Regions from separate parts of the Homo sapiens genome. Here region 1 is linked to region 2. The links are contacts of gene promoters, found by promoter capture Hi-C in blood cells and fetal thymus (Javierre and others, 2016). All regions are on one chromosome and are shown on one strand. Each heading gives the region's core, a stretch centred on a gene start or on the middle of the fragment in contact. The rest is flanking DNA. Distances are from core to core; before and after follow the strand shown.

What was found. Contacts are between HindIII fragments. The CHiCAGO score rates a contact against its expected background, and 5 or more counts as called.
Region 1: a contact is called between the fragment with the promoter of PDE7B-AS1 here and the fragment with the promoter of ALDH8A1 in region 2, in 2 of 17 cell types (naive CD8 T cells and total CD4 T cells). The highest score is 6.3, in naive CD8 T cells.

What each region holds. Positions count from the first base shown.
Region 1 is chr6:136,069,589-136,074,627 of GRCh38, forward strand. It overlaps PDE7B-AS1 (PDE7B antisense RNA 1), which reads right to left and starts at 3,239. Exons shown (of 4, transcript NR_149042.1): 1 at 2,961-3,239; 2 at 1,607-1,707; 3 at 636-743. The region is part of intron 2 of PDE7B (phosphodiesterase 7B); the gene reads left to right. The HindIII fragment of the contact is 8,353 bases long and covers 2,980-5,039 here.
Region 2 is chr6:134,948,355-134,953,997 of GRCh38, forward strand. It overlaps ALDH8A1 (aldehyde dehydrogenase 8 family member A1), which reads right to left and starts at 1,747. Exons shown (of 7, transcript NM_022568.4): 1 at 1,562-1,747. The coding sequence starts at 1,699. The HindIII fragment of the contact is 9,755 bases long and covers 1-5,643 here.

The DNA of each region.
Region 1 (5,039 bases), core at 1,989-4,488, 1.1 Mb after region 2:
TAAATTTTTGAAATTAATATCTAGCCAATTAAAACAAACTAGGTCTTTTAAATGAGTCATTTTCAGCTTTTTTAAACACTTAGTTCTATAATATACAGTTATAAAGTGTGAAAAATTATCTTCAATTTTTGTTTGTTTTAAATTACTGTTAAAATCACAATATCTTCATCAGAAAATAGAGCAGAGATGAATTGCCTTGGTAAAAATATCACAAAAATTAATGTTAAAAAATTCAGAATGGTAAATGAAGTGCTTAAAGAATCAGTTTAAAAGATGGCAAATCTCTTTTTCTGTCTATTGATCAATGAAACTATCTCTAATCCGAGTCATCATTAAAGTGTTATGCAAACAGAAATCTGAATTCAAATGAGCACAAAAGACCCCAAAACTTTAAGTATATTAAACTGATAAATATCAAAAAATTAGAAATTCCCCCAAGAGTCAACTCTTTCTCAGCATACATATTAAGTTGCAGGGAACTGATCAGTTGAATAGCTCAACTCAACTATATTCAACTGTATTCAGCTGCACTGTATCTTAAAGTATGAAAGCCTATATAAAAAAAAAAAAACAGAAGATTTAAAATGAATTTTAAGAAACAGCTACTTAAACTCAAAACCAGTTGATAAACATACCTTTTGATGCAACAACAGGAACAGTGTAATTAAAAGTGGATTAAGTCCTTGAATTCCAATTGAACAGGAGAGGAAATCCAATATATTTGAATTCTTTTGGGTTAGAATCTGTCAATGATATTAAGGCAAATTATTTATAATTTCACAATGATATCCAGTTAGAATATTTATTAATCTTTATAAATACCCATCCAATTTGCTTTCAGGCCTATATTTTTCACATTTTATATGACTATAATATGTCATTCTCAAATAATATTAGCATAATCAAGTCTCATGAATAACAATATTGTTGAAAAAATATTAAGTGTTCTCTAATCTGCTTTTTTTATTTTAAAAGGTTAGTTAATGGCATTGATCCAGATAGAATAGCATTTTAGTCCTTCTTTCATGATTTAATTCATTTAATTTAAAAAACATTGAAAATTTTTTAATACGTTAAGATACTAGAAAACACACTCTCATTTAGAATGGCATTCTTTAAATGTATTGTTAATAATTTGCAACATATTGACTTTTTTATTATGACCAAACTAAAATACCATAATAGATTGATTTTCTTACGTGATAATAACAGCAAAGATTTGAATCAAAAAAATCTAAAGTCAGTATAAAACAAACTACTTGGGCTTACGTAGGAACCAAACCCAAACTCTTGTCCAAATGAACAATTGAAATTCCTGTTGAGGTTTTGAAAAATCTCCACCACCCCATCAAGTGCCCTACTTTTCATGCAGCTCAACACTTCCAAACAGAGCCAGCATGAGGAGCCCTGAGATCCCTGTGGTCGGCCCTTTCCCAAGTATTCCAAACCCACGCCTGGACCAAGAAGCTCCAGGAATCTCATCAGAAGCCTTGACTCCAGGAGGTTTCGAGTTAGATTTCCAAACCAGAGAGGTTTGGAAAAGAGCATGTTGAACCTTCGACCCACTCTTGACTTGCCCATCTGTATTTCAGTTACAGGCACTCACCTAAGAGTACTGACTTCTCTCATGACAGCTGCATAGTTAATGTGCCATTTCCACTGTAAGAAACTTGGCTGGGGCCAGTCAAGATGGTTCAGTTTAACAACCTAATAAATATATTGAAAATAACCAGTGAAAACAAAATTACAGAGACTGCCTTGTAGCTCAGCTGCCATCGTCTCTGTAGCCAACCTCAGCCTTCACCTCAGCATTGCACAAAGTTCAGAATCACTAACATATCAGAAAGGTTGGACAAGAGGAAAAGTAAACTGGAAACACACACACACGTGTGTATACATAAGTTTAATTCTGAAGTATTGAGAATTTTATTTTCAAAGTGCTAGAAAGGCAACAGAGAGATAGTTCATTTCACCATTACAGAAACACCAAGAAATTATAAACTTCTCTGGATGTCAGTTTTCTTACTGGAAAAATTATGTTAAAATTATATCACTCTAGCCAAGTGTAGTGGTGCATGCCTGTAGTCCCAGCTACTAGGGAGGCTAAGGTGGGAGGATCGCTTGAGGCCAAAAGTTCGAGGCTTCACTGAGCTATGATCACACCACTGCACTCCAGCCTGGGCAACTGAGCAAGATTCCACTCAATAAATTAATAAATGAGTGCAGCATTCTAATGTTTTAAGGATTAAATGACATGATCATATAACAATGCCTAACAAGGTACACAGTGCAGTAACAAGTAAATGTATTTTAGCTTTTTTCCTTGGTTTCCATTAACATTTTTTTCCTTCAGTTAGTCATTCTAAAAATATTTATTAAGCATCTATTATGTTTTAAGAATTAAATGAGGTGACCCTACAACAGTGCCTTAAAAGGTACACAGCACAAAAACTAAATATATTTTAGCTTCTTCCCTCAGTCCCCTTTAACATTTTTTTCATTCAGTCAGTCATTCTACAAATATTTATTGAGCATTTATTATGTAGCAGGCATCATAATTTGTCTTGAATATATAATGGCAAATACAATAAACACAGTTCCTGCCCTTAATGGGGAAAACAGAAAATAAATAGGCGGGGAGGCGAGGAGAGAGAAAGACAAATCGAAATTGTCCTAAGTTCTGTGAAGGACCTAAACAGGGTACAGGGAGAGGAAATGGTGGGAGAGGGGCACCTGGTTAGATAGCTCATGGCATAGCTGATACTTTAATTTTGTTTTTTAAGTAGAGATGAGTTCTTGCTGTGTTGCCCAGGCTGCTCTTGAACTCCTGGGCTCAAGCGATCCTCCTGCCCTGGCCTACTAAAGTGCTGGGATTCTGGGTGTAAGCCACCTTGCCCAGCCCTGTTTATTTTTCTATTGATCTTAAGAAAGAAAAAGATGTCTTCTAATAACTATTTTACCTTAATCAGTTTTAAGACAAGCTTTGCAGAGCTCCATGACCCTCTGAAGAGACCGTGGCCACCTTGTAGGTTAGAGTATTTCGGACAGATGGCTGTACTACTGAGAGCTTTTCTGGACATGGCCGTTCTGGCTAACTTTCATCTTGTCATTACATTTCCTTTTCTGAGAAAGGTTGCAAGGGTGGTTTTGACAGAGTGATGCTGTTGGTATTTAGAATCCTGACTTTCTTGATCCTTTTCGGTGGAGCTGCGGGACACATGTGCGATGGAAACTGGCCTGGTTGCCATGGTGGATAGTGTTCTGACAACAGTCACATGGGTCAGGTGTCCGTTTTGGATCTTTCAGGCCTGTCAGCAGCTCCTGATAAAGCTAGCCATGTGGTTTTTCTTGGCTCACCTGTATATCCTGGTAGGAACAGCTAAGAGCCACTCAACGCACCCTTCTCTTTTTGGAGAAACCCCAGGGAGTTGTGTTGCTTGGGGCTGGGCCGCTTGGAGACCATGTTCTTTGTCTTTTTGGCCTGCTCTCGGGGCTAAGGAGCATTGATGGAATATCTGAGATGGTGGCGTCGGCAGGGATGGCCATGCTGAAGTCTGTTCATATCACACAACTAGGGCCACAAGCAAAGTCCTCCATCTGAATGACATTCAGGGACAGTCCATAAACTCAACGTGTGCACAGAGTGCCTCCGTACGCCATGCATTGTGACAGGTCCTGGGGTAACAGATCTGAAAGACTCCTTCTTTGTGTGTAAAGAACATGATTGGGTTAATTAAGTAAAAGTGAATATTTTCTTTACTGAGTCATAAAATTACGGGCATATGTCTTAATCAGCTAAGGCTGTCATAACACAGCACCATAAACTCAATGGCTTAAACAACAGAAACTGATTTTCTCACAGTCTTACAGGCTGAAAGTCCAGGATCAAGGCATCTGTGGAGTTGGTTTCTTCTGAGGCCTCTCCCCTCGGCTTGTAGATGTCACTTCTATGGTCTTCCCTCTGGGCCTGTGTCCTAATTTTCTCTTCATACAAGTGCACTAGTCATAATGGATTAGGGCCTACTCCAGTGGCCTCATCTAACTTAACTGCCTTTTAAAAGACCCCATCTCCATATAGGTCACATTCTGAGGTGCTTGGGTTAGGATTTTAACATACGAATTTGGCAGGGGACACACTCTAGCCCATAACAGCATTTTTACAGCCACACATAGTAAAAATCTGGAAATACACCACCACATGTATCAGAGTATAAGTGGCAAAGGTTGATCATGATACGTATCTCTCAGTTGAGAATTTCAGCGTGATTTCTAAAAACTTGTTGTGAAAGTACAATGCGCAGAAAACTGAAATTTCACCAAAAGTCCCATATCTGAAGCAAATAAAAAAATTTAGTTCCCATATTCTTTCCAATAGAAATAATTCCTTCGTGGAGAATTTATGCCTATCTCGTTCCTATGACAAAAAGGAATTTGGCCAGCCTGGCCAACATGGTGAAACCCTGTCTGTACTAAAAATACAAAAAAATGAACTGGGCACGGTGGCACACACCTGTAATCCCAGCTACTTGGGTAAAAGAATTACCTGAGGTAAAAGAATCATTTGAACCCAGGAGGTGGATGTTGCAGTGAGCCAAGATCGCACCACTGCACTCTATCCTGGGTGACAGAGAGACCTTGTCTCAAAAAAAAAAAAAGGCGGGGGGGATTTGGGGTTTTTTTGTTGTTTAAGGGTTTTTTAATTTTTAATTTTTGTGGGCACATAGTAAGGGTATATATTTATGGGTACATGAGATATTTTGATACAGGCATACAATGCATCATAATCGCATCAAGGTAAATGGGATATCTATCACATCAAGCATTTATTTCTTTCTTTGTGTTACAAGCAATCCAATTATACTTTTTAAGTTATTTTTAAATGTGTGATAAATTTTGTTGACTGAAGTCACCCTATTGTGCTATCAAATACTAGATCTTATTCACTCTATCTAATTATATTTTTGTACCAATTAACCATTCCTCCTTCCCACTACACTTCCCAGCATTTGGTAACCATCATTCTACTCCCTATCTCCATG
Region 2 (5,643 bases), core at 497-2,996:
CACAATAGTTAGAAGAAAAGATTTGGAATGTTCCCAACACCAAGAAATGATAAATGTTTAATGTGATGGAGATCCTAATTACCCTGATTTGATCATGACACATTGTATGCATGTATCAAAATGTCACATATGCCCATAAAGATGTACAATTATTATGTATCAATTTTTTAATTTTTTGTTAAAAAAGGGCTTAATGACTGCAAAGCACAAAGCAAAAGTTGAATAAACGGGAGCCACTGTTAGCAGCACCAGCAACATTTTCCTGAGTGATGTTTTGGAAATTGGACATGCAGTTTGTATGGTAACCATATTTTTCAAGCCGGAAAAAACTATGACTTATGGGATCAGATAGGATATTTGGAAGTTGGATTGCTGAGAAACTGAACATATCTATTACTCTACTAGCTAGCGCATCCATAGCTCATTCTATTTTCTAAAAAGTTATGAGCCATTAGCTGCAGGAAATATTTCAGCTGAATTTGGCATGTTTGTCATTTTTAACTTCACTTTGGCAAACAAGGAAGAGTGGAAAACACAAAGCTGGATTTCCCAGAGCTGTGTTAAGTCATTTGAAGCAAACAAAATTGCAGTTTATAATTTAACCAATGCATTAACCAACATTTGCAAACATTAATCCCTAAGTCTGAAGGTTTACTTTAAATGCAAGACAGATTTGAAGTATTAACAAAAAAGAAAAAAAATAGCAATGTTCTTAAAAAAAAACTTTGCATGGAATATATATTTTTATAGGAAGACTATATTTTAAATAATCTAGTTATTTGTGCCTTAAAAAGAATAAATTATAATTCATAAGGCATTAGATGACTATATATACATCAGCTACATTTACCACTTCAGATATATTTACATTCTCAGTGCAATAATTGATAGCTAATCAAATATATCTCAAATATTTTACAAAATTCTCCAAGTAAAATTAATTCTACATCACCAAAAAAATGTAATGCATATGCCATTAAACACTTTGGATAAGAAAAAAGACGCTGTTAAATCTAACTCCAAAAATATATGGGAATTTGATTTTGAGTTTCATCATTCAAATGATTGATTTTATTTTACTAGGTATTTTGAAGACATGACAAATTATGAGAAGACAATCTAAAACAAAGCCCACAGTTTTTTGCTTGTTTGTTTATTTTAGTAAAGCTATACTTTTTTTTTAATTCCATGGATATAGTGGTAAATTTAAGCAGTGCGTGGTGGAGAAAAGGGAATATTTAACAAAGTGATAGCTCTTACAAATAATACTTTGTACTAGACACTGATTAGGAAATGTTTGAGAATTGCAAAAAAAAACTGCACACAGGGCTGTGTTAGGTTGGCTAGAAAAATGACTTACTTTCTGCATATAGGAAGAGATTTGTTCTAGGTATCATACAGTCCAGTTACAAGGTACATCTTCTGAGAACTAGAATCTTCCTTCTATCATGTTTAACAATCCTACATCTTCCCCCAACTCCCTCTGCTTTTAGAAAACTGTTACCCATAATTGGCCAACATATTAAACACATTTCAGTCTTCTTTAAGTGCATATACTCACCTCGTCTTTTCCACTATTTGGCACTCTGCAATACACTTCCCCTGTTGATGGGTCGTAAGAATCTATATATGAGCTACAAGGTAAAAATTTTCCATCTATGAAGTTTTCCAGCATCAAAAGTGCGTTTGTTCCAGCCATAGCAAGGAAAAATTCTGCCTTTCCTCTTTACGACTGAGCACTCAGGTTGTCCCCACCACTGTCTGGACTCCTGAGTGAGCCTCCCCCTTCCCAGCCCCCATCTTCCCCTTTACCAATCAGTGAATGTGGGAGGGCACCTGACGCTCTCAGAGAGCATTCCAGTCTCCAAACTCAGAACTAAGAGAGTGGCTGAATGTTTCACAGACTTCTAGTACATTACCTGACATGGATAATTGTGTGTAAAAGTAACAGCTACTTACTTATGTGTTCATAGCCCTTTAAATCATCAGAAGGCATCTGTGCATGTGATTTTATTGGGTTCACACCGTAAACTGTTCATTGCTCAAACACTGATTGGATGCCAGGCCCCAAAGCAAGTCCTTTACATGAATTTACTCGTTTATTCCACACAACAATCCTATATGAAGTAACCATTACTTCCTCTCTTTTATAGAAGAAACTGAGCCTTGGAGAGGTTAGACCATTTTTCCAAGGTCACATAGTTAGCAGGGGATGAACTGTAGCCCTTTAATCTCCAAATCATATACTTTTTCCTCAATGCATCACTGCTTACCCTGCAGAGGTAACTGAAGACAGATGCCCTCTTTCCGTGGCTCATCTGTGTTTCTTTACCTTGGCTGCCCTCTCTTGGAAGAGCTGTCTCTCCATCCCAAAACCGGGGCCACAGTGGCTGCTCACATCTTCCTAGATGTGCCATGGAGATAAAGACAAGCCAAAAACATGTGTGACACATATAGCAAGGGCTTCAGATCCCTGATGTAGCTGAGAATTTCTACAAATTGGTAAGAGAAATGAGCACCCCAACAGAAAAGATAAGCAAAGATACAAAAAAGCAATCCATAGGAAAAGGAACACAATTGGCTAATGAATATATTAACAATGTTCAGCCTTGTTGTTAAGCAAGGAATGTGAAATACAGAGGTGGCCTGATTTGCCAATCATACTGGAGAGCATTTTTAAAGATTGAGAACATCTACTCTGTGAGGATGTGGAGAATCATCCCTAGTCCATAGGCGGGAGGGTTCACAGAACACTGCTTGGGGCAATTTGTCAGGGTCTGGTCAATTTCTCTTCTAGGAATCTCTCCTACAGAATTACGTGCTCATGAACAAGTACATAAGTCACAGGACATCCTTTTTTATCATAATTTAAAAATCAAAACAACCTAAAGTCCATCAATTGGAGAATATTAGAGTATAATTGTTATATTCTTAACAGGGAATACTACTTAGACATTAGAAGGATGCATTGTTAAGTGAAAAAATAAAACTAGTGAATAATATATACAGCATAGTTTCTTTGGCTATTTACATGGTTGACAGGAAGCCGTTTTAAACTGCTTGGATATTTTATGGCAAGCCTATATTACTTTTATAATTATGATTTATAGTTATAATTCAGTTGAAGGTTAGGTACCAATATTCTAAAATTCATTGATCACATGAGGGCACTTGCTGGCCGTGCACCTCCTTAGGCCCTCTCTGCTTCCATCTTTATTGGTCTCTAGATATTCTCCAAAATTCTTGCTGAGACTTCTGACAAGCATGGTGTGGCTGATTCTGGGAGGCCCAGAGCAGCTGGAGTCTGGAGCTGGCGCCGTTGCCTGTCGCTGGAGAGTCGCTGACAGGGACTGGAGACAGAAGGTAGTCTCAGGCTTTTTCTGGTGCTGCCCACGGTCAGGTCAGCTGGAAACAGAATGAGAGAAATACGCAGGTCCCAGCCCTGGCACCACAGAGTGAAGTACCAAGAAGTGAGCTTGGTGCTGAGAGACAGTGAGTACCACCCGGTGTGTGCATAAAGACTTCTGTAGCCCATCTTCCTGGGTCTCCAACAACTCTGCCTAATGTTGATGGACTCATCAGAATGTTTGTCTTTTTGTACAGAGTGCAAAAGATTCTAATGGGAGGACTATGGAAGGGAGATCTTTTTGAAGAAAGGACTTTACCCAGGATAGCATGAGAGAGGAATTTTCTGCCACGTGACAGTAGAAGAGGACAGAAGCCGGACACGGTGCTTCTAAAGAGTGCCTGGTGCTGATCAGAACTCCCCACACAAGATCAGTCCCAGTGGCAGAGCAGGCGTGTCTGTCAGTTACAGTGGCCTCCTTGTGCCATTTTCTTGTGCCATTGGCTGCTCAAGCTGGGCCTTCGCTGGTTTTTCTTTTTCTTTTTTTTTTTTTGAGACAGAGTTTCACTCTTGTTGCCCGGGCTGGAGTGCAATGGCATGATCTCAGCTCACAGCAACCTCTGCTTCCTGGGTTCAAGCAATTCTCCTGCCTCAGCCTCCCAAGTAGCTGGGATTACAGGTATGTGCCACCACGCCTGGCTAATTTTGTATTTTTAGTAGAGACGGGGTTTCACCATGTTGGTCAGGCTGTTCTCAAACTCCTGACCTCAAGTGATCCGCCCTCCTCAGCCTCCCAAAGTGCTGGGATTACAGGCGTGAGCCACTGTGCCTGGCCTCGCTGGTTTTTCATAATGTACTTGGCCTTCCCCCACTTCCCCCTGTCAGCCCTTTTCTGTCCACAGTGCAACCATTTGATCCCCACCTGCAGGTCAACCACAGAGATGACTCTGGAATCAGAGCTCAGCTGAGCTGGGAGACTTTCATCCTGGAGGACAGAGCATGGGCCTCATTCAGAGTCTGGTCATGTCAGTTGACCCCAGTCCTGATACCTGAGCTCTGACATGCCTTCAAGGCCTTTTCTCTAAGTTGGCACCAACGTTTCTCCTGTCGGTTTCCCTTGAAGAGACATGAAATCCTATATCTGGGCCTAGTGGCTGAGAACCTACTTCTAGGTAGTTCTACCTGCTTCACTGGACATGTGGGTATCACCTGCTCCTGAATTATTCTGGCTGGCTCCATCTGCTCGCCAGTGTGTCCTGCTGAATGCAGATCTGTTCTTACCACATCCCTGTAACAGCATTCTGACCCATGGGTGAAACGTACTCCCATTTGCGGTCACAGAATCCACCCCCCACCACATCCCAAGGGGTGGATTCACTGCCAGGTCCTGCACAGTGAGGACAGGGGACTCAAGACCTTGAGTGCAACTGAGAAAAAATTATAAATGGGAGGTATTAAGTATACTAATATTCTAAGAGAACTAGTTGCTCTAGAATATTACAAAAGAGAATAGGGTGTTTTTATCTAATACAACAAAAGTTATTCTCTTTAAAAGGGGAAAGACAATCCTGATTTAGGGGGCCCCAGGTGTACTGGAGTTTTGTTTTTACCCACAGTGGTAAACAAAAATCACAGCATGGTAGCATGAGGCAGCTGGGAGGGGTACGCTAGACTCAGGAGAAACACAGGATGGGGAACAGAGAGTGCCATGAGTGAAATGGAGCCATCAGAGTTCATTCATTTGGAGAAGGATAGGGGAGGATGGATACAGAAGCATGGAGAGGAGGTTGAAAGACAGACAAGATGGTAATTCCAAATAAATACCTGTTCTGGGGCGTCATTTTCCTTCTGTCTCCACAAGAACCTTGCTCACTGGATTATCATCTAACTTTTCATTCTTCTCCTCTCTCCTGGCGCTTTCAGCCTTTAAATGAGCTCCTCTCTCCAATATCATATCATATAAACAAAATAATATAATAAACAAAAATTTAAAAGAACTTTCTCTGGCTCTCTGGCCTCTGTCCTCTCCTCTATAATCCTTCTCTCCTACTGAAAACATTACACAGAATGAATGAAAATGAAAAGTGCTGTTGTTATAGGAATAACTACCCTCACTTATATGTGGCATGATGTTGTTCTCTTGCCCATTTGCCAGCCCCTCAAACCCCAATCTTCTTAGCCTCACTCCTAGGAGGAACTTTTGTGCACAATCGCATGTCAGAATTATCCTATGCAAGGTTATCAATATGAAACACTAGAGGTTTCTTTGGTTGCATGTGCTCCACTCTGAGGAATCT